4 separate regions of the Homo sapiens genome follow, and regions 1, 2 and 3 are each linked to region 4. The links are contacts of gene promoters, found by promoter capture Hi-C in blood cells and fetal thymus (Javierre and others, 2016). All regions are on one chromosome and are shown on one strand. Each heading gives the region's core, a stretch centred on a gene start or on the middle of the fragment in contact. The rest is flanking DNA. Distances are from core to core; before and after follow the strand shown.

Evidence for each region. The method cuts DNA at HindIII sites, captures the fragments that hold promoters and counts their contacts. A CHiCAGO score of 5 or more calls a contact.
Region 1: a fragment that was not itself captured here is called in contact with the fragment with the promoter of MGAT4A in region 4 in 1 of 17 cell types (non-activated CD4 T cells); the score reaches 6.0 in non-activated CD4 T cells.
Region 2: a fragment that was not itself captured here is called in contact with the fragment with the promoter of MGAT4A in region 4 in 5 of 17 cell types (non-activated CD4 T cells, total CD8 T cells, activated CD4 T cells and 2 more); the score reaches 9.7 in non-activated CD4 T cells.
Region 3: a contact is called between a fragment that was not itself captured here and the fragment with the promoter of MGAT4A in region 4, in 11 of 17 cell types (total CD8 T cells, non-activated CD4 T cells, monocytes and 8 more). The highest score is 10.5, in total CD8 T cells.

The regions. Positions count from the first base shown.
Region 1 is chr2:98,627,560-98,633,574 of GRCh38, reverse strand. All of the region lies in intron 14 of MGAT4A (alpha-1,3-mannosyl-glycoprotein 4-beta-N-acetylglucosaminyltransferase A), which reads left to right. Among named protein-coding and RNA genes, the nearest start is that of UNC50, 22 kb to the right of the region's middle. The HindIII fragment of the contact is 3,789 bases long and covers 1,772-5,560 here.
Region 2 is chr2:98,611,168-98,617,529 of GRCh38, reverse strand. UNC50 (unc-50 inner nuclear membrane RNA binding protein) reads right to left here. Exons shown (of 6, transcript NM_014044.7): 4 at 1,184-1,323; 5 at 997-1,098. Among named protein-coding and RNA genes, the nearest start is that of UNC50, 5.8 kb to the right of the region's middle. The HindIII fragment of the contact is 3,811 bases long and covers 2,891-6,362 here.
Region 3 is chr2:98,799,141-98,805,664 of GRCh38, reverse strand. The region is part of intron 7 of CRACDL (CRACD like); the gene reads left to right. Among named protein-coding and RNA genes, the nearest start is that of LINC02611, 31 kb to the right of the region's middle. The HindIII fragment of the contact is 728 bases long and covers 1,384-2,111 here.
Region 4 is chr2:98,728,489-98,734,985 of GRCh38, reverse strand. MGAT4A (alpha-1,3-mannosyl-glycoprotein 4-beta-N-acetylglucosaminyltransferase A) reads left to right here and starts at 3,854. Exons shown (of 16, transcript NM_012214.3): 1 at 3,854-3,938. It overlaps LOC107985922 (a long non-coding RNA gene), which reads right to left and starts at 3,705. Exons shown (of 2, transcript XR_007087150.1): 1 at 3,291-3,705. RefSeq lists silencers at 2,906-3,200, 3,307-3,496, 3,517-3,846. The HindIII fragment of the contact is 4,047 bases long and covers 1,864-5,910 here.

The DNA of each region.
Region 1 (6,015 bases), core at 2,417-4,916, 100 kb after region 4:
TTCCTTAAGAAGTCTTCTTTAATGGAATTGTGTATGAGGAGCTTCCTTGACCCTCTCGTTAGCAAAACAATTATAACTGGTGAAAATTATTTTTAAAAAACTATTTTAAATCTGTGAAGATTGTCCTAAGGGCTAGCAGCAAATGGAGCAACATTTATTCATGAGAATCTCCCAGATCTCGGGGAGGGAGCCAGGACCAGCCTTATCACTCACAGTACCCCCAGCTCGGGGAGACAGAAGCTCTGCCCTGTGCAGGTACAGCCAGGAACACTGGACTCTCCTGCCAGCTTCTAGTCTAGGGCTGTGGCATCTGCCCAGGAGGGTCAGGCTGCCAGCATCTGTCCTTACCCCCAACTCTGTTGCAGAAGCTCTGTTCCAGACAAGAGCAGCTGATGAATCTGGGCAGAACTCTGCCCTAGGCACAGCAGGGTGAGAATACTTGGCCCTGATCACCGATGTCCTAGCTCACTGCCCCAGTCCAGTCAGTAGCAGAAGCCAGCCAAGAAAACCAAGGCTTGGCTGGGCGCAGTGGCTCATGCCTGTAATCTCAGCACTTTGGGAGGCCAAGGTAGGCAGATCACCAGCTCAAGAGTTCAAGACTAGCCTGGCCAACATGGTGAAACCCTATCTCTAGTAAAAATACAAAAATTAGCCAGGTGTGGTGGTGCATGCCTGTAGTTCCAGCTACTTAGTAGGCTGAGGCTGGAGAATTGCTTGAACCCAACGCAGGAGGTGGAGGTTGCAGTGAGCCAAGATTGCACCATTGCATTCCAGCCTGGGCCACTCTGTCTCAAACAAAACAAAACAAGACAAAAACCAAGGGCTACTGCCATGACCAGTGCTCTGATCCTAAAGCAAGGTGTCACTCCAAGAGAAGGGGCTGCTGTCCTTGCCAAGGACCCAGAGCAGTGGTGCAGAGATTGTGCCCAATGGAGAGGCAGGCCAGAAGAACAGAGAGCTCTGTAGTTCTCCCTAAAGAGGAGATGACTTACTTGAACCAGAATGTGGGGAAGTTCAGCCTAAGGGTGCTGTGGAATACAATGGAAATTTTAGTGTTAAGCAATTAGAGATGTTAGCTACAGACAAGCAAATTTGGATCCCAGTGGAAAGTTTAACAGGGAGAACTAGGGAAAGAGATGCTAGTAAGAGCCCTCTTGGCGTGCAAACAAGCTGCTGTTGAGACGGGAAAAGTTCCCTTACCCACCTTTCAGGGCGTGTGATGGGGGTGTGGCTTGCTTCTTTGGTGCCCTACTGCTCAAACCCCTAGGGGAGCATGCAGAAGGGCAGGCTGTGGGGCTCTGACCCCATGGCAGTGTCTAGGGGTGAATGTTTACAGCTCCTGAGGTCCCAGTGGGCGCGTGTTACAGGGTGCTCTTTTAGTTTAGCTGTCCATAGGTGGCTTGTGTTTGTTAGCTCAATTAGACCCCCTGCCTTTTTATTTATTTATTTATTTATTTATTTATTGGAGACAGAGTCTCGCTTTGCCGCCCAGGCTGAAGTGCAGTAGTGCAATCCCGGCTCACTGCAAGCGCCGCCTCCCGGGTTCAAGTGATTCTCCTGCCTCAGCCTCCCGAGTACCTGGGATTACAGGCGCCCACCACCAGGCCTGGCTCATTTTTCTATTTTTGGTAGAGGCGGGGTTTCGCCATGTTGGCCAGGCTGGTGTTGACCTCGTGATCCACTGGCCTCGGCCTCCCAAAGTGCTGGGATTACAGGCGTGACCCACCGCACCAGCCATTAGACCCCCTGCCTTATCACAAGGACAGAAGCTTTCTGTATCCCGGGGTCTCTTGCCTTGGTGTACCGGATGAATTGGATCACACGTGGGCTTGGAGAATGAGTGCCAGGTTTTATTGAGTGGAAGTAGCTCTCAGCACATGGGGGAGCCAGAAGGGAGATGGTTTTCCCCTGGAGTCGGGCTGCCTAGGCTCTCCTCCGACTGCCCTGGCCAAATTCTGCGTCATTCCGCCCATCGATGGCCTGCCAGCATCCGCGGGTGTGCTCTTCCGCCCGCCCGTGTGCTTCCTTCCCCTCCACGTCCAGCCACTTGTGTGCCTGCCTGCTAGGGTCTCAGGGCTTTTATAGGCACAGTATGGGGACGTGGCAGGCCAGGGTGGTCTTGGGAAATGCAACATTTGGGTGGGAAGACGGAAATGCCTGTCCTCACCTAGGTCGGTGGGCACAGGCCCGAGGTTGGAGCTCTAGCCAGGGCTCATGACCTTCTCTACCCAGCACTTCCCTGCTCCCCTTGCATGTCGCCAAGACTGGCCCTGGAGAGGGGCCTGAATTTAAATGGGATCAGACTGGGTAGCAACTTACGCGTGAAGGCATTGGCAAGAACAGTAGACCATCAGCTGGCCATCAGTGGAGACCCGAGGGTTGATGGCGTGGGGGTTAGAAGAGTAGAGCGTGATAGCTAAGAATGGTCTTGTGGAAGAAATACTAGTTCTATTTCAGTGGGTTAAAGCTGCGAGACGGCAGAAGAACCTTCTGCAGAGACCCAGTGGGAGAAGGAAAGGGCCACTGGTCAGGCATGGCGGGCGGAGGGGAGCCACGGCTGTAGCCCTTGGCCGTCCCTGTCAATGCCAGGAGTGTGGGGTTCCAGTCACTCTGGTAATTTCCTTCACTTTTTCTCTTCTTTCCTGTCTTAATACTTACCTTCCAGACCATTGGGTTAAGGACAAAGGTTAAGTTTGTAGTTTGAAAAGTCATTACACACACACAGTACCAAATACAAATTTAAAAGGGTAGTCTTAAGTCTTCTTCCCTTTTCTTCTCCTACCCACTGCTTCTGAGAGGCAGTTCCCGTAATGATTTGTGTCCCTTCGGGAGTATTGTATGCATAAATAACAATATCTGGGTATGTTCTCTAAGAACAACACATCGTCACACACAAATGATACGCCCTATAATCCAGTTTTACATCTCTTTTTTTCATGGAACAAAATGCCTATGTACGTATGGAACATGAACATTTAAAAATATTTTAATAATAATAATATGCTGAGTACCTGTATCCACCCTCCAGCTTAAGATGTGCCAATTCAGCTGTCCGTCCCTAATAGCTTCTCTTCTCTTCCCCTTCTCCCCAAAGCTATACCCTAATAGCTTCTCTTCTCCTTCAACACCTGAATTTTATGGTTACCATTTCCATTTTTACTATGTATGGAATATATTCCTAAGCAATGCACAGTGGGATTTTGCCTGTTTTCACGTTTGATATAAATATCTTTCTGTGGTCTACAGTTTGGTTTCTTCCCCCTCACAATTGTGAGATTCATCCACGTGAGTGTGTGTGTTTACGACTCATTCTTTTTCACTCCTCTATGGATGGATTCTGTGGACAGCACGATCTGTTCTCTGGTCATAAAGTTTGTGTACATGTTTTTGCTGTAATAAACATGGCTGCTTTGAACACTTGTGCACATGTATGAGAGTTTCTCTACAATATAGACTTAGGAAGAGAAGCAAATCTTCAACTGCATTATCTTCAACTTTTTCTTCATTATTTGATTGATTTATTTATTTATAGATGGAGTCTTGCTCTGTCGCCCAGGGTAGAGTGCAGTGGCACAATCTTGACTCACTGCATCCTCCGCCTCCTGGGTTCAAGCATTTCTCTCTGCCTCAGCCTCCCAATTAGCTGGGATTACAGGCGCAGGCCACCATGCCTGGCTTAATTTTTGTATTTTTAGTAGAGACGGGGTTTCACCATGTTGGCTAGGCTGGTCTCGAACTCCTGACCTCAGGTGATCTGCCTGCCTCAGCCTCCCAAAGTGCCAGAATTACAGGTGTGAGCGACTGTGGCTGGCTTATTCTTTTTTATTTTTTCTTCGACTGAAGAAATTGGCTGCCTAAAATTCCCTTGTATCAGCATATTGTAATTTATTTGGCCAGGCTCCTAGTGATGGATACTTAGGTTGTTTGCAATCTTTTGCGGTAGTGTATGTACTGTTCTTATACATGGGAGAGGATAAATTGCTGGGCAAGAGTGTTTTGATGAACTACTTATCATTTGGTAATTATTTTTCTAATGAAATGAGCTCATCAGGTGACAGTATTCAATGTCACATTGGTTAAAATGTTCCAAGTTTTGCAATATTTTTAAGATCTGAATCCCATGCCTAATTCAATATTCAATAATAATTTTTGGTAGCACCTACCTGCTACCCAAGTCCAGCACCAAGTATGGACAAACTTCTATGAAATAAGTTTATTAATAATTTTTGAATAAAAGCATTACTTTGGAGGCTCATAGGTTCAACATTTACAATATAAATTAGTACAAGCCTGCTCTGCTGTGGTTTTCAATCTGAATGTACCTTATTTTATTATTAATCTATTAACTATGCTGTGAGACTGGACAATGGATTGCATAATGTAACAGCATGTGGTCAGCAAACTACGGTCCATGGGGCACATCTGGCCCTCCACCTGTTTTTGAATAGTCTGTGATCTAAGAACATTTTTTAAAAAGTCATCTTTTTCTTTTTTTGTTTTTAAATGGCTAAAAAAGTAAAAAGAATACATTGTGCTATGTGAAAATTATATAAAATTCAGATTTCTGTGTCCATAAATAAAGTTTTTTTGGAAGACAGCCATGCTCATTTTCTAATGTAGTGTGTGCGTGTGTGCTTCTCTCCAACAGCAAAGATGAGTGAGTAGGTGCAGGAGAGATCGAGGTCATGCTCTCCCGGCTTTGCACTGCTGCTTAGAGTACTGCAGATCACAATGATGCATTTATAATTGGACAGTATTTTGAGAGCCACACATATCATGGCACTCTGACTTAAAAAAAAATTACAAGTACTTATCCATCATCAAAACAAGAAAAGTAGATTTTGAGCATTGTGGCTTTTAACACTGTAGAATGTGGGTTATGTTACAAAATTGTTGGCAAGTCATTGTAGTTATTGTGCAGTTATGTGAGAGCTGTACGTTATTAGGCTAAATACAATGATACTCCCAACTCACAGGAAAGCAGTGGTCAGAAAAGTTAGAAACTTTAGAATGGAATATCTCATCACAGCAGAATTTCTTCACTAAAAATAAAAATGAGGCTGTTCCCAAAGTGGTATTTCAAGTGGCTTATTTTTTAGCTAAGCAAGAAAAACCACTTACCAATCACGAGTTAATTAAATCATGGTTAATAGCAGCAGCCAAAGTAATGTGTGCAGAGAAAGTAAACTTATTTAAGGATAGGAGGCTTTCAGCAATAACAATTGTTTGAAGACTTAAGGACATTGGGAGCAATATCAGTATTCAAAAAACAAAGCAGATTATTTTGAGTGTTTTTCTTGGCTCCTGAGGAATTGACGGAGTTGTCACTGGTACTGCTCAGTTATTACTTGGAATCAGTGCCATGGTTGAAGACACTGAGGGTTGGCCCCTGTAAATAGTCTGTTTAGAACAACTACAGAGAAGAGTATTTTCACACAGGCTGAGAAAACACAAATTCAGTACAACCTGAAGTAGAATCTGCTAAGATGTGCTTAAACAAATGGTGCTAAAAAAAAATACTTGTGGAGAAGATGGCTTAGTTGCATTAATTTATAAAGCTTGAAAAAAATGTAAGGTATTTAAAGCCTATGGTTATTTATTTTATTATTCATCAGCCAGGTACTTTGCAGAAAAGATTTGAATGTGTCATATGTCATTGAACAAAAGTGTCAACAGTGAACCTTATTCACTCTCATGGACTTAGCCATCACAAATGCTGTGAATTTTTGTCAGAAATAGGAACTGAATATCCTGACTTGCCCTGCCACACAGCAGTTCAGTGGCTTAGCAGTGGTAGAGATTTACTGCAGTTTTTTTGAGTTCAGGACCAAGATTGAAATTTTCCCAAATGAGAACTTCCCTCAACAGCTATTATCACTTTGAAAATTCGTTTTTGCTAAACTGGGCATGGTGGCTCACGCTTGTGAGCCCAGCACTTTGGGAGGCCGAGGCAGGTGGATCACTTGAGGTCAGAGGTCCAAGACCAGCCTGGCCAGCATGGTGAAACCCCGTCTC
Region 2 (6,362 bases), core at 3,547-6,046, 120 kb after region 4:
ATTCTAAGTGGTATAGGTCGTTACCAGGAGTGTTCAAATAACCACTTAGAGAAACCACAGTGCTGCAGTGTTCTCATCACAAAACACTTTCAAAATTCATTAGAAATGACACAAACATCTCCCCTGGACTAGAGAAAGCACTCCCCAAACAAGGCATTACAATGAAGGGGTTAAGTGTTCCCTGACAAACCAGCCAAGGGGGGAGAGAACCGGGGTGGGAATAACTCCGGAGCCAGGCATAGTCAGAGCCATCTGTATTTACAGTTAGGCCCTAATCATCTACAGTAACAGGAAAGGAAGGGGTAAGAAACGTACAGCGCAGTCTCTAGATTTTATTTGGCTTTATTTAATGGGATCATTTCTTAACATAAATGAAAAATAATATATGTTCCTCATTCATATTAAGAAAAATGAACTGACAACAGGATTTAACAGTAAATCTGCAAACATGTCCTGAGGACAATAAATGTTGGGCCCGATCTTCTGTGATTGTCTACAGAACCATACGGTAATCATGAAAACTAAGAATGGGGCAAAAAGTTATGATTCAAAAGGCTTTAGAGAACTTCAGTTCATAGACCTATGTAACAAGATGCTGGGCCCCACCTTTCTTCGCTCTACCCTCCTGCTGGTAACCCACAACCTGAAAGCATGGGAGAAGAGGAGTGAATGGTCTTGGATTCCTGCAAGTCATCTGGAGATAACCAGTATGGTTTAACATGTTTCCTTGAAAGTATAAAATCTGTTATATACCAGCTAGGCCATTTTCTAGCTGCATGACCATGGGTAAGTTGCTTAATCTCTCTGCCTCAGTTTCCTCATTTGAAAACAGAAACAAACCTGTGTAATTGTCATGAAGATTAAATGAGATAATGCACATAAAATACTTAGGATAGTGCCTGTAAGTGTTCCATAAAAGCAGCTGTTTGTACTACTGTTACAACTTTCCCCCTCTTGCTATGTTCTCAACCAAAAACATTTAAAAAAATTACTTACCACTGTATCCCAGGAAAGTTACATAGATATAATAGCCAACTGCAACCAACCATAAGGTATTTCCAACTAAATATCCAATAAATGTGTCTGTCAGGATAACATCTGCCAGAAGAGACGCAGACCATGAGTCCCTTTACCAATGCATGCAATGAAGACTTGGATAATACTCTAATTAACTGCTACTTACGGTTGATGAAAAAAAGCTGGATAAAATGCAAAATGACCAGGAGTGGATAAAAAGCATTGAGATGCACATCAAAAGCATAGCCCCATTCCACATCATAGTCTCTGCTCTGTCGTTTCACTAAATACTTGTTAGAGATGAACCTAAGAGCAAAATTAAAATTTCTTTCATAATAAAATGAATTCTGTAAATGTTTACTGACGACTTTCTATGCGGCAGACATTCTAAATTCTGGAGATATACCAGTAAACAAAACAGACAAAAATCCCTGCCTTCCATCTAGGAAGGAAGGCTGACAATGATACACCTATGTCAGATGGTATTATGGAAAGAGAGAAAGCAGCAGAGAAATGTGGAGAATACAAACTTGAGATGCAATTGTACATATGAGGGTCATAAAGTAACATTTGGGTAAAGACCCAAGGATAGTGATGGTGCCTGGCAGGCCTGAGGAATGGTGAAAAGACCAGTGTCTGAAAGAAAAGGAGCAAGAAATGAAGCCAGAAAAGAAACAGGGTTGGGCCCAACATCAAGTCACACAGGCTCCATGTCTTACGAAGCCTGTGGCCGTTTTACAATCTTTGGCTTTTATTCCTGGTGACGTGAGAAGCCACTGTGGAGTTCTGAGAAAAGTATTTGACTTAAATGCCTTGACAGAGCCTCCCTGGTGGCGGATCTGAGAACAGACTCCAGAGACAAGACTGGCAGCAGAGACCAGTTAGAAGGCTACTGCAAGGAAGAGATGAGCAGAGGGGCTGGTGGCAGTGGAGGTGCTAAGATGTGGCACACACGATACTCTGAAGGTAGAGCTCCTGACATTATTGGATTGGAGTATGAGAAAAAAATACTCAAGGATGACTGAGAGATTTCTGCCTTGAACAAATGGAAGATGGAGCTGCCTTTAATTGAGGTGGGGCTGGCTGTGGGAAGAGTGGTTTTGAGGTGGGAAGGAGTGTGCGGAAGTTTGAATTTGGACCTGTTATGTTGAAGATGCCAACTAGTATGGAGTAAGAAGTTGTATACAATGTCTAGAGTTTAGAAGACAAGTCCAAACTGGAAATATAAACTCATCAGTGTGTAGATGATATTAATATTTAAAGCCACGGGCCTGAATGATGTCACCAAAAAAATGAATGTGGATAATGAACAGGCCCAAGGCCCAAGACCTGGGTCAACCCCCTATTAAAAGGAGGATGAAATAGTAAGAAGCAGTTAGGAAGAGTGACGCATCCAGCCATAAGAACAATTATTCAAGTGTATGTCACTGTTCTACAACATGGCCTACTAGTTTTTCAGTTCAATGATGAATAAAAAGTAAAATATCCAAGTAACAGAAAAGTAAGATCTTCAAAGAACAAAACTTGTATTATAAACATATATTGGAAATTCAATGTATTTTTTAATGTATTATTTCATTTCATCTCAAGGGTACAATTAAGAATACGCTATTCCGTCACTGGGGATAAAAATGGAAAATAAACAGAGGTACAATACTAATGTTAACAGTCCCTGCATTTCGTTATCTGAAAATGCCAAAACAATACTGAACAAACTAGAGCTTACCAAGACAGTTTCCTTTTTAGCCAAGAATGTGTGCCATTCAAATTTTATGGAATCAGTATGTAGCTCGCTCCCCAAGAGCGCCCTTTCTGTAGACGTTCTCTGCTGCCCCTATTCTCCCGCTTATCCCAAATGGGCGCTTTTCAAGCTTCTGGCCTCAGTGAGAGTCTTTCCTCTGAAAGACAGATGTGCCTTCCGAGAGCACTCCAAGGCACTGTGGTTTTCACCTCCCAGCTCCATATTAACGCCAGTCAGAGGCTCATCATGGCCCAGACTCTTGCCTCTAGGTCTAGAGTCATCAACCTCAGTGTCTACTGACCTTCTTTTCACTCTTCAGGAAGCTCCCTGAACTCAACAGGCCAGCAAGGGCTGCTTCATCTGCATCTGCTGCTTCCTCAGTCATCTAAGCCAAAATCTTACAGGTCATCCCAAAGGAGCCTCCCACCCACTCCCTCTTCCTGATCCCCCCTCATACCTTGTTATCTCAGGAAGCTCTCGAATCCATCTCTCCTCTCTATTCCTATCACCACCATACTATCTGGGCCTCCTCTACTCCTACGCAGACCTCTGCAAGTGTATCCAGCCTTGCCCACTCACTACTCCAACTTTTGCCTCCTCCACTGCCATGGAAAAGATAGTGTGAGTTTGACATTATTTCCTTACTTTAAAGCCTCAAAGCTCCCCACCTCCTTTTGCCCCCAACCCACACATGCAGTCTATGAGATAAAGTCCAATTTTTTTCCTGAATGGCATGAAGGCCAATTTCTCTAGTCACATCTCTTCCCCAGTGACTCGGTGTCACCCTATGCTCCCAGACCTAGTGTGCTGTTCACACCTCTATGCCATTGCACTTGCAATTCCCAGCACCAGGAGTCAACTATTCCCCATCTCCACAAACCACCACCTTATGCTGGCTTCTGTAGCTCCTCTGTGATGGTCATCATTACATGTAGTCATTTCTCTTTCTAGTTCCTCACACAACATAGGTTCTCAAAAATACACTGAATCCCTTTCTATTTAATTCAAACTATGATACAGACTCACATGAAATGTGCTAAACTCCAGGCTGATTTGGTCCCCTTCTGTGCCTGATATTGTTTGGCTGTGTCCCCAAAATCTCATCTTGAACAGCAATCCCCAGAATCCCCACGTGTCAAGGGTGGGGCCAGATGGACGTAATTTCCCCCATGCTGTTCTCGTGATAGTCAGTGAGTCTCACAAGATCTGATGGTTTTATAAGCATTTGGCATTTCCCCCACTTGTACTCACTCCATCCCGCCACCCTGTGAGGAAGGTGCCTGCTTCTCCTTTGCCTTCTGCCATGATTATAAGTTTCCTGAGGCCTACCTAGCAATGCAGAACTGTGAGTCAATTAAACCTTTTTCCTTTATAAATTACCCAGTCTCAGATATTTCTTTATAGCAGCATTGAGAACAGACTAAGACAGTGGCCTCCAGAATTACTGCATTCAGGGCAGAATGCTTGTTATGAATGAAACTATTCCTTTGAAAGTCTTATTTATTGAAATTTTAAAACACACCATTTGTTTTTCATGAATTTCTTGGTAATGAATACGTGACTTACATTAGTATTAATTCTAGGCCAGATTTTAGAATTTTATATTAACAGTGGACAGCATTTATTGGCTAACTAGCACATACAAAAGCTCTGCTGTACTAGTCAGAAGTTACAAAGGAAAATACAGGCATATGTCATTTTACCACACTGCACTGTACTGCGCTTCACAGAAACTGTAGTTTTTAAATTTTTACGTATTGAAGGTTTGTGGCAACTGTGTCCAGCAAGTCTGCCTGTGCCATTTTTCCAGCAGCATATGCCCACTTCATGTCTCTGTGTCAGCATTTTTAAGCAATAAAGCATTTTAAATTAGTCTGTACATTGTTTTTTAGAGCCATAGTGCTATTGTACACTTAAAAGACTACAGTACAGTGTAAATATGATTTTAATATGCACTGGGAACCAACACATCTGTGTGACTCAGTTTATTGTGATATTTGCTTTACTGCAGTATCTGGAATGGAACTAGCATATCTGAACTATGCCTGTAAAAGGGTGGTATTGGCTGGGCGCGGTGGCTCACGCCTGTAATCCCAGCACTTTGGGAGGCTGAGGCGGGAGGATCACCTGAGGTCAGGAGTTTGAGACCAGCCTGGCCAAATGGCAAAACCCTGTCTCTACTAAAAGTATGAAAATTAGCCAAGTGTGGTGGTGTGTGCCTGTAATCCCAGCTACTCAGAAGGCTGAGGCAGGAGATTCGCTTGAACCCGGGAGGCGGAGGTTGCAGTGAGCTGAGATCACACCATTGCACTCCAGCCTGGGTGACAGAGTGGGACTTCGTCTCAAAGAAAAAAAAAAAAAGGCTGGTATCAGAAGTTATAGTTGCAGAGTTTTGCTTAAAATATTAGTAACTACCAAATATTGAACACTTAACTGTGTCAGGTAATTTTCATAACATAATTATCTCAAAAATTGGACAGAATAGGTAATTAACTAGATTTTGTAAAAGAAGAGACTGGGACTAAGAGTTTCACAGATAACTAAGTTGGCATTTGAACCCAGGTCTCTCTGCAACTAAAATGTTCTCCACAATGACCACCATGTCTACCCAACCACTGGTCCTCTACTGAGATCGCTAGCCACATCCCCTGCCCTTCATCCAGCATGCCAACCACACAGGAGGACTTTACCAAACACCAGATTTATCCTCAGTACACTGCTGTTGCTAAATCAACCAAAGTCAGACTGAGAACCCTTCTGATAAAGCCCGTGTGTGTGTGTGGCGGTGGGGGGGCGGGGGGGGCGGAGGGTGTGTGTGTATGAGAGAAAGAGAGAGAATTTTATTCTCAGTAGGAAGGCATGAGAAGTTTAAAAAAAAAATCCTTCTTTTTCAAGTATACTTCATTTAATGCAAAGATTCAAAGTAAGACTCCACAAAATAACCCTTTAGATCTAAATGGATTTAAACACAATGAATATCAAGAAGTGGTCTCTATTGACAAATGCAGAAAACCATGCTATCATCCAGACAACTTAAGCAGAACTGGCTAAATCTGTAATATTTTTGCAAAACCAGGCATTTTGTTAGTATGCAGAAAATAAATCTCGGGACCCCAAAATCACTAAGCCAAAGGGAAAAGTCAAGCTGGTAACTGTGTCAGGCAAACTTGCCTCCTATTTTATTCCTAAGATAGCTTATCTTTACAGGTGTGGGACAGAAAGTCCTCCTTCTACTCACCTGAGACAAGTGTTTATCTGATTGCTTCCTCTGCCCCATTGTTTATGTAAAAATGCAGACTCACTGAGCCAGATTAAGGCATAAATGACTATTCCTGTACCTGCCTCTCACAAGTAAATTGTGTATTCAGTGAAAGGCAGATCAAAGACTCAAAAGAATGCAACCATTTGTCTCTTATCTAACTGTAACCTGCCTTTCCCCACTTTCTGGATTAAAACAATGTACATTTTACACATATTGACTGATGTCTCAAGTCTCCCTAAAATGTATAAGAGCAAGCTGTGCCCCGACCACCTTGGGCACATGTCATCAGGACCTCCTAAGGCTGTGTCACAGGCATGTCCTTAACTTTGGCAAACTAAACTT
Region 3 (6,524 bases), core at 498-2,997, 73 kb before region 4:
AGTGAGTCTGTGTGGAGTCAGATCCTCTGCACTCGCTGAGTTGTGCAATTCCACTTAGGAGAGGAAGTGGAGCAAGAGGAGGGGAGGCTCTGGAGGGTGGAGGAGGAGGGAGATTGTGTGGATGAGGGGAGGCAGTGGTTAGAAAAGGCAAAGGGGGTGAGGCCCTACGGAGGGTGCACTTGAAGCTGTGGGGTAGTGAAGCGGTGGAAAGGGTCTGCTGGTGAGGGCATCCGGGGCACCTTGCTTAATTGCAGTGTGGAAACAGCTCTGGGTGCAAACTTGCCTCATTTCTCTATGTGCACAGGGAGCTAGGCTCTTCTTCCTGGTCACTCTCAAGCACCTAGTGACTCCTGTCTTAGGGGGGGTTTTGTTATTTGTGTGCTTTTACTTCTAATTGAAGAATAATATGCATACAGAGAAATGCACAGATCCTATGTGTGTAGCTCAGTGCATTTCCAGACTGAATACACCAGACCAAGAAACAGAATGAGACCAGCACCCCAGAGGCCCTGCCGTGTCCCCTTTCAGCAGGCTCTGGAACTCATTCCTGATTGTGGACCATGGTGGCTGTCAGAAGATCCTCTGGTCCTGATGGCTTTTGCAGGAGAGCCTGTCTCCATGCACTGGAGAGAAAGATTCAAAAAAATCATTCCTGTCTAGACTCAGCACCTTCCCCAGGGCCTGGCACCTAGTGGGCACCCACCAGGTCCAGTCCGTTCTCATTGTCTAAGGAAGTTATGCTCTGAGAAGTCACTGCAAGCTAACTTAGCAAGTACTGAGCCACTGCTCCTGGAGGAAATGCAAGGTTAGCTTCCTGTGTGTCTCCTGCCACAGCATCAATAGATCAACACATAACCTTGTTTTAGGTGTAATTCTGTTTAAAGATGCTTTATTTAGTATATATTGTTGACGCATTGACACCGAACACACAGCCAACGGCACTGTAACTCAGGCCTGAATGAAGCTTATCTGAAACACACATTATCTCCATCGGGCACATCACAGCCTCCTTGGGCTTAGGAACATTAGACAGCACATCAGCACTCCACTTGGCAGCCTAACCAGCAGAATCACCAAGAAAACCTAGTGCCCCAAAATGTGGCACTGAGTAGACTACAAAAAAGATACTGTATACGGTGTAAGAGCTAAAACAATAAGGCGGCGCATCACTGCTTGACCTCAGCTGGGAACTTGCACATTGGGAAACTCAAATGTTTTGCTGCCCTGCACGTGTTTGCAAATGACCATGCCAACACCATGCATATTGATTTTGGGATTACAAATGTATTTTAGCGAGTAGGCGAATTCTCAAATATGGAGTCAGCTCACAGCGATGATTGACTCTATTTGTTGAATGAGGAGAGGAAGGAATGGCGGTAAGCTTAATTTAAGGTGGAACTGGGACACAGCACCGTCTCCTGTCATTAGCAGTGGGGGCCTGCCCTGAAAAGCTCTTGCTCAGTCTCAAAATGCTCAGCATGGTTTTGAGAAGAAGACTTGGTTGAGCATTACCACCCTGAGTTCCACAGTGAGATCACACAGCCTGGCTCTGGGACAGATCTGATGACGAGCGACTGTAGACGTTGCCAGCATGTATTGATCAGGAGCAGCCTGTGAGTCAAGACTGACAACAGATCAATAAATGGCTTTTAAAAAGCAAAACCCCTCAAGCTGTTTATCTAGGAAGCCTGACAAACCCTGCCGCAGTGGTGTGGCCCCATGTGTCCCCAGGGCCTGGGGCCCACCTCTGCCCCAGAAGTCCTCTTAGTGTCTGTAGACAGGTCCCATTTCCACCAGGTCAACCAGGGCTGTGGCAGTGGACCTGGATGGCAGGCAGAGCAGAGGACCGCTGTTCTATTTGTTGAAGCAACGAGGCACAGTGACTGTTCTAGCACAGCTGGCTGTGAGAAATGGCGATGATGGATCCACTTTAGATCCGAAGTCTTAGCAAACTCAGGCCTCTTTTCCACAGAGAATGTTGTGAAGACCTGGGAATGAGCTGTTGATGTGCATTTTTAGGATGACAGCATAATGGAGAAAATTGGAAGTAGCATATGCCAAAGTATGAAGTGTTCACACAGCTCCCTTGGGTTGTTGATTTATGGGAAGCTTTTTTCTCCTTTATACTTTTATCTACTTTCTAAATCTGTACAATATGCTTGTGTACTTCTATGAACAAGAAAGAAATGTTATGAAAAGAAAAAGTTTCTTAAAAATTGCTGCATCAGGCCGGGTGCAGTGGCTCCCACCCATAATCCCAGCACTTTGGGAGGCAGAGGTGAGAAGATCATTGGAGACCAGCCTGGGTGACATAGCGAGACCCCATCTCTACAAAAATTAATTTAGAAAAAAATTAGCTAGTCATGGCCGGGCACAGTGGCTCATGCCTGTAATCCCAGCACTTTGGGAGGCTGAGGCGGGTGGATCACGAGGTCAAGAGATCGAGACCATCCTGGCTAACATGGTGAAACCCCGTCTCTACTAAAAAATACAAAAAATTAGCTGAGCGTGGTGGTGCATGCCTGTAGTCCCAGCTACTCGGGAGGCTGAGGCAAGGGAATCCCTTGAACCCAGGAGGCGGAGCTTGCAGTGAGCCTAGATTGCGCCACTGCACTCCAGCCTGGGCAACAGAGCGAGACTCCATCTCAAAAAAAAAAAAAAAAAAAGCCAGGCATGTGGCTCACACCCATAATTCCAGCTACTCAGGAGGCTGAAAAAGTTGCTACTTCAGAAAGGACACCATGTACCAAATTTTTCAGAGGCCTGGAAATCTTGTTGCCTTACCTTAAGGCAGAGCCTGTGCTTTATATCCTCAGCCAAAAGGCAAGCAACCTGGGAATTTACATTGTACGACAACTCGTTGCCTCTCAGGAGACTGTGCTTGACAGCCCTCAGCTTCCAGACTTAACAGCTGCATCCCTAGTGTCATACGGGGTGTGGCCCACCATTGGGGTCCCACCCTGGGCCCCTCAACTCGTCATAGCAGAAGTCCTTCTGAAAGAAAAAAACAATACCTTAAGGCTGAATTTTAATAGGCACTAAAAGAACTAACCATCACCTATCAGAAAGTCAAAATGAAGTGATGAGACGAATCTGTCCCACGTAGGCGTAGTTGAACACCTCTAGAAATGGTTTAACATTGAGGATTTTTGAAAGGGTTCATTTTAGATCTTCCCGAATACAAATAGCTCAGTAATAATGCCAAATGTGGGTCTGAAAACTTTGTCATCCTCTCCTACAGGAGAGTTCTGTGTGGAGGTATTTTAAGAGTGATTCCTGGGAATGCAGATGAAAACGGCTCTCATCTCGGGCAGTGTGTCCTGCATCCGGGATGGCCAGGCTCGCTGTAACACACAGCGTGTGCATGGAGGAGAGAGCGCCGCCGTGGATAGCGGGACTGCGGTGCACACTGGTGTGGCTTGGGCCAGGCTCCTCCATGATGCAGCGCCAGCAGGGCAGCCCCGATCAGACCCGCTGGCTCTCACACACTGTGGCAGACGTGACCAGGATGAGGCGCCTGCCCTTACAGGGCTTGCAGGCAGACTGGCACACACAGCATTGAGATGGTCTGCTGGAACCCGTGGACGATGTTCTCAGGGAGCCAAGAGTCAGCCTGGCTGCCTGACCCTGCAAGAGGCTGGGGTGCAACCCATTGCTTGCTGTGGTTTTCTTATCACAACAGCCACGAGGGCTCGTTGTCATGGCAGAATGGCTCTCTGGTCTCCATCAAGCTCCAGGGTAAGGTTTGACCAAAATTCTCCACCCCTCCTCCAGCAGGAACAATAACAACACTAGCAACAAGCACATAACAACAGCAGCAATTGTGGCAGCAACTAACACCACTAAGGGCTTTCCCTGGATTCTCTCACAGAATCTTCACAACCACGCTGGGAAGTGTAGACAGTGGATATTTCACCTGATCTTCACCAACCACGCTGAGAGGTATAGACAGTGGATATTTCACCCAATCTTCACAATCACACCAAGAGGGACAGTGGATATTTCACTTATCTTCAAAACCACACTGAGAGATATAGACAGTGGATATTTCACTTCACAACCACACTGGGAGGCATAGGTCGTGGATTATGTCATGGAATCTTCACACCACACTAGCAAGTGTCTACACCTGCTACAAGCATACAGTTCAGAGAGGCCTCCTAGGCCCCTGCCACAGAGCAGAGTGGCTCATCACACAGCTGCTCTGCCTGTGCTCACTGGGGACAAAGGCACAGCTTCTTTGAGGCTCAGCACTGTGGAAGGTGATGCTCAGCCCATCACCCCTTTCTCAGCTTATCTGCTGAGAGGCTCCAGGTGGAATCTCAGGCATCTGTGAACTACATTATGGAGCTGGAGTGGGTTCTCTCTCTTTTTCCTGGTGTCTAGACCCCCATTTGCCATTCCTGCACTCCTCTGCCAATGAGGGTGGCCCTGGACAGTCCCTGTAACAGGGCCTAGAGATTACAAGGGCCCTCTTGCATTCCTGACAAGGAAAAAGGTGAGAAAGAAGAGAATACAGAATAAAAGGAAAGACCAGCAGTTGCAGGGAAAGAGGCAGGAACCAAAAAGGAGAGAAATGGTGGTGTGGTCATAAGCTGGCCCAGTGCTTGGCGATGCTGCTATTGCAGGTTACCTTATCCCACAGCAGCATGGCCTGGCCCAGCCAGGGCACCCACCCACTCCCGTGGGTCTGCATGTGAACACAGACACACGCTTAAAACACACACACAGTACAGCTGGAAACATTCCTACCCCACAGACAGGCAGCAGCAGGTGACCCTTCTGTGTTTGGGATGGAATTCTGCCAGCATGCTCCTGATGTAAGGAAAGGAAAATTTACCTCTTGCCAAGCTCAGCATTTAGAAGTGTATCTGGTACATAGTCTGTGGTGTGTGTTTGTTCGGTAGATAAGAAATGCTTATGACCAAAGGCATACTTCAGTTGGGTAGATGGTCAGCTAGCAAACATGTCTAGTACCAAACATAGTGAGGCAAGTGTCTCGAGAGGTTACAGAGGACTTAGGAGAGAGACTGACCAGAACAGACTTCATGGAGGAGGTAGTGTCTAGGGACCCTGGTGAACCAGCGGGGAGGATTCTAGAACAAGATATCCAAGCCCTTGTCACCTCTCTTGAGCTGTGGCCACAGCCTCCCTCCTAGCTTCCCAGCCTCTCGTCCCTCTACAGTCAGACTGATTCTCCACACAACCTTCAGAGTGAGCCCATGGTTTAAAACCCCCACAGTGTCCCCATTATGGACAGAAAAAGAAAAAAGACAGAAAAGACCCTTCCTTGGGGCCGGTTTACACAACTCCTCCACCTGCCCCCAACCCCAGCCTGGAAGATTGTTCTCCAGATCCCAACCCAGAAGGCACCCCTACTCCCACTCACCAGTGTTAGCCCCTGTGTCCGCATAGCCCTTTGTAAATTTTAGCATTTTCCAGTTTCTACCACAGTTACTTGTTTGTGTCTCGTCTCCCCAACTAGACTTTGAGCTTTTTGAAGGAACAATTTGTTGTTTATTTTCCCACCTCAAATATAAGGTCGTCCTTGCTCATAGCAAACAAGGTGAAACAGGAGAATAGAAATGCTGGGCTCTGGCTAGGAATAGAAAGTAGGGCTGGAGTGTACACTAAGAAGTATTAGTAATTTCAGCAATTCTGCCTGTTGGATCAGGAGTAGAAGAGAGAATGCTGGGAGGAAGCGATGACGGCTGAGGGTCAGGAGCAAGCAGGAGTTCCAGGTTAGGAACAAAAGTCAGACAAGGACCTGGAGAAGGGCCTCAGAGGCTGGAGGGATGCCCCAGGAGGACAGGCTCCCCCAGAGAGGATGTGCAGCCACGTCAGAGCTGCAGGGGTGAAGCAGGTTGAGGACCAGGCTTGACCTTGGGATTTGGGGTTGGGTGGTTGGGAGGATGGAAGGAGTGGTGTCAACTCGTGGCTGGTTCAGCAAGTGGCTGACGAGACATAGGCAGAGGCCATTTGAGCTAAGGGTAGAGGAGGAGGGAGAACTGGACCTTCAAGGGACAATGAGGCTCCGGGGAGACTTCTTTCAAGCTATGGAAGACCCAAGCATTCTGCTAAGCTGCAGGGAAGATGTCAGTGGGAGAGACTGAAGAGTCAGGAAAGGGGTAGGATGAGTCCAAGAGGTGCAGCAGGATTCCCAGGGGGCCAGTCAGGTGGAGGCCCCAGGGAGCAGCCAGAAAAAGGAGTGAGAGCCGTCCCTGGCTGCCAGGGCCAGGGGAGGTCCTGGCTGTGTGAGGCTGAAGGCTCTTCTCACCACCAGCAAGAGACTGTAGCTTGCAAAGCAGTGGCCACCCCGCTTGTACCTCCTTGTTGACCAGGGCACTAAGGGAAAAGAATTCCAGCCTGAACTGGAAGCAGAAACAAAGGCAAAGTGAGTAATATCCTCTGCACACCAGAGCAAGGGGTGGAAGACATCAGGCCACAGAGAACAATGACATTCACTCCTCCTGGACATCTGCATGTGTTGCTGTGAAACAGTGCTGTTGTCACCCGGCTGACTC
Region 4 (6,497 bases), core at 2,605-5,104:
TAATCATAGGCACTCAGAAAAAGTTTGTGGAACAGCAAAAATGTGTGTGGAAAGGAAAACAGCCTCAACATAGAAGCTTTGTTGGGGACAGACTACAAAATAAATGGTAAAGTTCTGGCAGAACCTCTTGGGTACAATTCCACTGAGAAATAAAGGCAGAAACAGAAACTGTAGAAGTAGAGAATAAATAAAAAGGAAGTGATAGAGGAGGAGAATCATCATCAACAATATTAAAAAGAGAAAAAGATATGGAATGGGATTCAGTGGGGTTTGGATGGATTGTCTTTGATTATTAACAGATACTATGGACTTAGTTGGAAAATCCAGGATCATAAACTCTGCTAAGTTAACATGAATCATCAACCAATTATACCCTATACCTTGGAATAATATATTCTATGGCATTCCAGTTTCTTGGGACAACTCACTGAAATCCAGACTTTCCTGAGCTACAATGTATATGGTTTGAGATAAGTGTAACCCTATTTTCCAAAACCTGCCCTTCTGCTGCCAGTTGAAGCAGCAACGAAGTATCAAAAAAGCCTCCAAGTGAAAGCAGTTGTGTTTTTCCTGTACACTTTTTGTCTTCTGCTGTGCTTCCTCCACTACCCAGAGTGCAGGGGAAATTCCGCTTTTTATCTGAATAAGCCGGTGGAGTCTATAACTGAAGTTTGTCCTTCCCCCTATTCCTTTCTCCTCTGACATATGCCTCTGCTTATAGAATGTCTGTAAATGCTTTCATTTCCTTCCTTCACTAAGAGAAAAAACTGGAGAAGGTGAAGAGAAACATCTTTTTTTTTTTTTTGATGGAGTTTCACTCTTGTTGCCCAGGCTGGAGTGCAATGGCGCGATCTTGGCTCACTGTGACCTCTGCCTCCTGAGTTCAAGCGATTCTCCTGCCTCAGCCTCCCAAGTAGCTGGGATTATAGGCACGCACAACCATGCCCAGCTAATTTTTGTATTTTTAATAGAGACAGGGTTTCACACTGTTGGTCAGACTGGTCTTGAACTCCTGAACCTCAGGTGATCTGCCCGCCTCAGCCTCCCAAAGTGCTGGGATTACAGGAGTGAGCCACCACACCTGGCTTTTTTTTTTCTTTCTTTTGAGAGAGAGAGAGAGAGAGAGAGAGAGAGAGAGAGAGAGAGAGAGACAGGGTCTCACTCTGTCACCCAGGCTGTAGTGCAGTGGCATGATCATATTTCATTGCAGCCTGGAACTCCTGGGCTCAAATGATCCTCATGCCTCAGCCTTCCCAGTAGCTGGGACTACTGATGCATGCACACCAGGCTAATTTTTAATTTTTATTTTTTTAAAGACATGGGTCTCTCTCTGTTTCCCCGGCCGGTCTCGAACTCCTGGGCTCAAGCAATCCTCCTACCTCTGCCTCCCAAAGTGCTGGGATTATGGGCATGAGCCACTGTGCCCAGCTGGGAAATATATGTAAAAATATTCATCCACTCAACAAAATTTTGTAACTTGCTGAAGATGTGAGCAGAGAGATAGTCTGGAGGGGTGATGTAGGGGCTCTGGAATCAAACAGACCTGGATTTGAACTCTGATTCAAACATTTACTAATTGCCTAAATTACTGTTTGTATCTGTCAAATGTCTTAATTTCTCAGGGCCTCAGTTTCTTCGTGAATAAAATAGGGATAATAGCTCCTGTTCCATTTGGTCTTTTGGGTAATTCATGAAAATGGCTTGGGGGCATTCTCCATGATGTTATCAAATGGCAGGACTTTCTTCCTCTGCAAGAAGTAGTTTGCTTGTCTGTCATTAAGAGCACTGTAATAGCAAAGCCTAGAATCATCTATTCCTAGGAGATATTTTAGGCAGGATATATCCAACAATGTATTAAAAGCTTTACCTTGGAATGGTCTCAGTCTTTACCTCTGTTTACATCTGGTCATGAATCAAATTGCCAGCTTGCTACTTGGCAATGGCTTTGTCATAGAATACAGGAAACCTGGCTTTCAGGTCCCCAATGTATTCGTCCGTTTTCATGCTGCTGATAAAGACATACCCAAGACTGGGCAACGGACAAAAGAGGTTCAATGGAGTTACAGTTCCACATGGCAGGGGAGGCCTCACAATCATGGTGGAAGGCAAGGAGGAGCAAGTCACTTCTTACATGGATGGTGGCAGGCAAAGAGAGTTTGTGCAGCAAAACTCCCTTTTTTAAAACCATCAGATTTCGTGAGACTTATTCACTATCACGAGAACAGCATGGGAAAGACCCTCCCCCATGATTCAATTACCTCCCACCAGGTTCCTCCCACCACACAGGAATTGTGGGATTTACAATTCAAGATGATATTTGGGTGGGGACACAGCCAAACCGGAAGTAGAGAGAAAACACACTCAAAGTAGAGGGAAGAGCTGTCATTGGATATCATGGCTGTGATCCCCCAAGTTGTGTCCACAGTGCTGGGCAGTGGACAGATCTTTTGGTATGGTTCCCCTAAACTAGTAAGAGACTATGGGAGCAGGGATGTTACGTGTCTCTTCCTGAAGTTTTAAATTAGCCGTCATGGAGAAACCTCAACATGGGAAGGCTGATAACTCCATGCATGTTCTAGCTGATTATTAATTATTCTTATCTTGAGATAAAAATAATGGAATTTATCGGAGGTGGGGAGGGGACCCTGTTCTGATTGATGCCTCTTAAGAGTTTTCGATTATTGAAATTACTGTTTTCTGAAAAGAATCTACTTATTACTTTGGGAGTTTGGCAGGAACAAGGCTGCCTCCTTGATCTTTGGCCCCTCAATTCCCTTACAGGTTACTCGGTAGGATTGCTGTAAGGATTATTGCGGCAATAAAGTTAACACATCCCTTGTTTTTGAACCATTACCAGCTGTGTGACCTTGGGCAAGCCCTTTCACCTCTCAGCTAGTTTCCTCTTATGAAAAATGGGGAATAAATTTAAAACATGAGATATGCAATAAACGATCTAACACCCATGCCTGCTATACGGTTGCCTGCTATACAGTTAAGTATTCAAAAGAGGACGTACCCAGGGGTAGTTACTGTTAGCACAAGTCCTATGGATACTATGAAAAACAGGGACAGACCACCCAGGCTTTCTACAAACGAGTCAGTTTTTTGCCTTTGAAGTTAACCTCTAACCTTGTGAAACGGCGACAGATAAGGACATGGGGTTCAAGAAAACGGGGCATAGTGGAAAATCAGGGGCATTAGCACCCAACGATGTGCGTTGAAACCCTAGTTGTTTTTCTCCTTCCCAGTTGCTGAAATCAGCCCTTCTGGCCGATTCGCGGGGTTCTCACCGGGAAGTTGGGGCTGTCGCGACCGTCCGCGGGGCCTCGGGAGCTCCTGTGGGGCTGGGCCCGGGACCTGTCCCCGGGGAGGCCGCCCAGTTTGGGCGGCCCGGAGCGGGGCGCGCCGCTGGGAAGGGGCCGGGTCGAGGCAGGCAGGCGCCTGGGAGCTGGGGCAGCCCCGGGTGGTCGGGTCGCGCGCCGAGGCGCAGGCCGAGGGCTCGCCCGGGCCTTTGTTGGCCGCCGGAGCGGTCCCTGCACGCGCCGGGAGGATCTCAGCCAGATGTGGCAGCGGGGCGGCGGGGAGCAGGCCGGCGCCCAGAGCTGGGACCCGAGACCGCGGCTCCGCTCCGGACCTCGCCGTGACACCGATGAGCCGGGCCAGCCTCCCGAACGCTCCGCAGGCTGCGTGGCGGCGCCCCTAAGTGACAGTCGCGCGGGCCACTGGTGGGGCGCGGGGCGCGGGGCGCGGGGCCCGCGGGGCCGGCCAATGGCTGGCGGGGTCGGGGCGGCCCGGCGGGGCGGGGCGGGGCGGGCGCTCCAGCGGCGGGGGCGGAGCCGGCGGGGCGGGCGGGGCGGCCCGCAGCGGCGGCGGCAGCGGCGGCGGCGGCTACAGCAGCTCCGCCGGCAGCCGCGGGAGCACGGCGACGCCAGCGGCGGGTGAGGGGCTCGCGGCGGCAGCGGCGGCGCGCGGGGGCGGGAGGGGGCGCGGGGCGGCTGCGCGGAGGGCGCGGGAGTTGGGGGCGGCGCCGGCGGCCGGGCTGGCGGCCCCGGGCTGCGGGAGATCCACCTGCTGGTAAAGGAGCCTACTGCGCCGCGGCCCGGCCGGAGCTCTGTGCGGGGGAGCTGTTGGCGCCTCTGGGCGCGGGGCCGGCTCCGGGAGCGGCTGGGCCTCGGGGGCGGGCGGCGGGGCGCGGGCCGGGCCGTCCTCCCAGCGTCCCTGCCCCGCACCGCGCACCCCTCGGGGTCGCGCGCCCTCTCTGCGGCCGGCTCGGCGCCTGGTGCGTTCCTGGCGCTCCCCGGCGTGGCGGGGCTCGGCGACTTTGGGGGAAAGTGGAGCAAAGTGCTGATCCGGGGGGTGCGGAGGGGGAGGGACAGCTGCCTGTGGGACCCGGGGGCTGCGCGGGAGTCGGCGCTTTCGCGGGGGCCGCGGGGCAGGTGGGCGGGGCCGGACGGTCCGAGGCGCAGGGGCAGGGGCTGCTCCCGAGGGGACCGGCCGTGCAGCCTTCGCAGGGAATTTTCACACAAAGTGAAGGGCTGCGGGGCCCGCGTGAAAGAGCAGCCCCCGTTTCCCCAGGCCTCAGCTCTCTCCGTAATGAGGAAGCTGCAGTAGGACCCTGAGGCTGGGTCTCGGTGACTCCACCAAGTGTGCCAGGTGACATCTCGGAGGCGAGCTTTTCTGAGCTGGCAGTCGAGCCACTTGCACACCCGCCTTTATTCCTCGCAACAGTGTGTTTCTCTGGAGCGGTTTCATTGCCTACATTCCGCATTGGAAAATAGAAGCAGGCACAATGTATGCTTTGAATGCTTTCCACGTATTTTGCTGTTGTGCTTTTGCTGTTGGACAGATTATTTGATAAAAGATAATGACAGTCGTTCGTTGGAACGTAGACTGTAAATTTAGAATAAAAATATGCGTTTTGTGGTTTATGTTTCTTTTTCTGAATGTTTAAAAAACAGTTTGATGAACAGGTTATCTTGACATAGATTTCTTTAACCCACACGTGTAAACCCGAAAACGCACTGGGCGATGACATTACGTAAGCTGTATTAAAGAAAACTACTGACCCGTTTATAAATGGCAAATAAATGAATTTTGCCACAATTGTGGTGTGTAAAGTTATATAGGCTTACGTCATGGATTTTATTGATTCCAGATATCAGGGATTATTGTGCCTTTCATTCTTAAGTCACCTCTACCCTGTCTGTGGGATGCTGATTAAGGAAGATGCCAAACGTTCGGCAAAGTGTTCTCAGCCGTGGACTATATTGAGTATTTCAGAGAACACTTTAAAATAAGTAAAGGTTTTGTATCCAATAATAAAATGAAGACTGAAGCCCTTAAAGGATTGCTAACAAAACAGTCTGATGTCTAGAGTTGAAAGTTCCATTCACCTTTGGGAGGGTGGAGAAATGACTAGCAATTTTAGCCACTACCTTTTTTTGTTGTTGTTAAAGATTCAAACGTGTTAGATTATAGTCTCCGAGAATATTAAGGGGCTAGATTAAAATTTTTGCAAATGTGGACACTAATAAAAATGTGGGTCACCTGTGTCTTACAAGCCAGCCTGTGAATTATGTCTCATAATTGAAGAGTGAGTAGATCCTTGGTTTTACTCTTGTCCGAAGAGTTTCTTCACTTGTGCCGTGCAGTTAAACTTATTAGCTGGGAAACCCTAATTAAAAATGTATGACTACATTCTTACTGAGTAAAACACGCATATTTTTCTTGCAAAATTTCAGGGCTTATTTGCTAGTAGAATTTATTGTAAGTATCTTCAGAGTTTCATAACTTACTGGATCCAGTATTTTTTTTTTTTCATATATTAGGGGTAGTATATCAATAGTTTACTTTGGTTTTAGAGTTCATTTACTTGTCTCTATGCATTTCTACGGAATGTTTTTACAAGCTTTATTTGTATTTAGTAAAACTTTTAAAATATCCTTAACTATATGATGTGCGCTCTACCTCCCCGTTATTATGAATTGAGTGCTTACTCTAATAACCTGTATGCTTTTTAGATCTTTTACTAGAACAAAATTCTTTCTCAAGTAAAATAGGGCTAAGTAGATAGCAGCTGAAAGTTATAAGTATTTTAATATAATGCCACACCGGGATTAATGTTCCAAGTTATATAATTCATAGAATTATCACCCGTGTTTTTATAATCAGAATTCATTATTGGGTGCTTATTGATTTAAGACAATTAGAGCAGTCTTGCTATGAAGTTTTTTTTTTTTTTCAAACTGAGTCTCTGTCACCCAGGCTGGAGTGCAGTGGTGTGATCTCGGCTCACTGCAACCTCTGCCTCCCAGGTTCAAGTAATTCTCCTGCCTCAGCCTCCCGAGTAAGCTGGGATTACAGGCACCTGCCACCACTCCTGGCTAATTTTTGTATTTTTAATAGAGACAGGGTTTCGTCATGTTGGCCAGGCTGGCCTTGAACTCCTGACCTCGGGTAATCTGCCTGCCTCAGCCTCCCAAAGTGCTAGGATTACA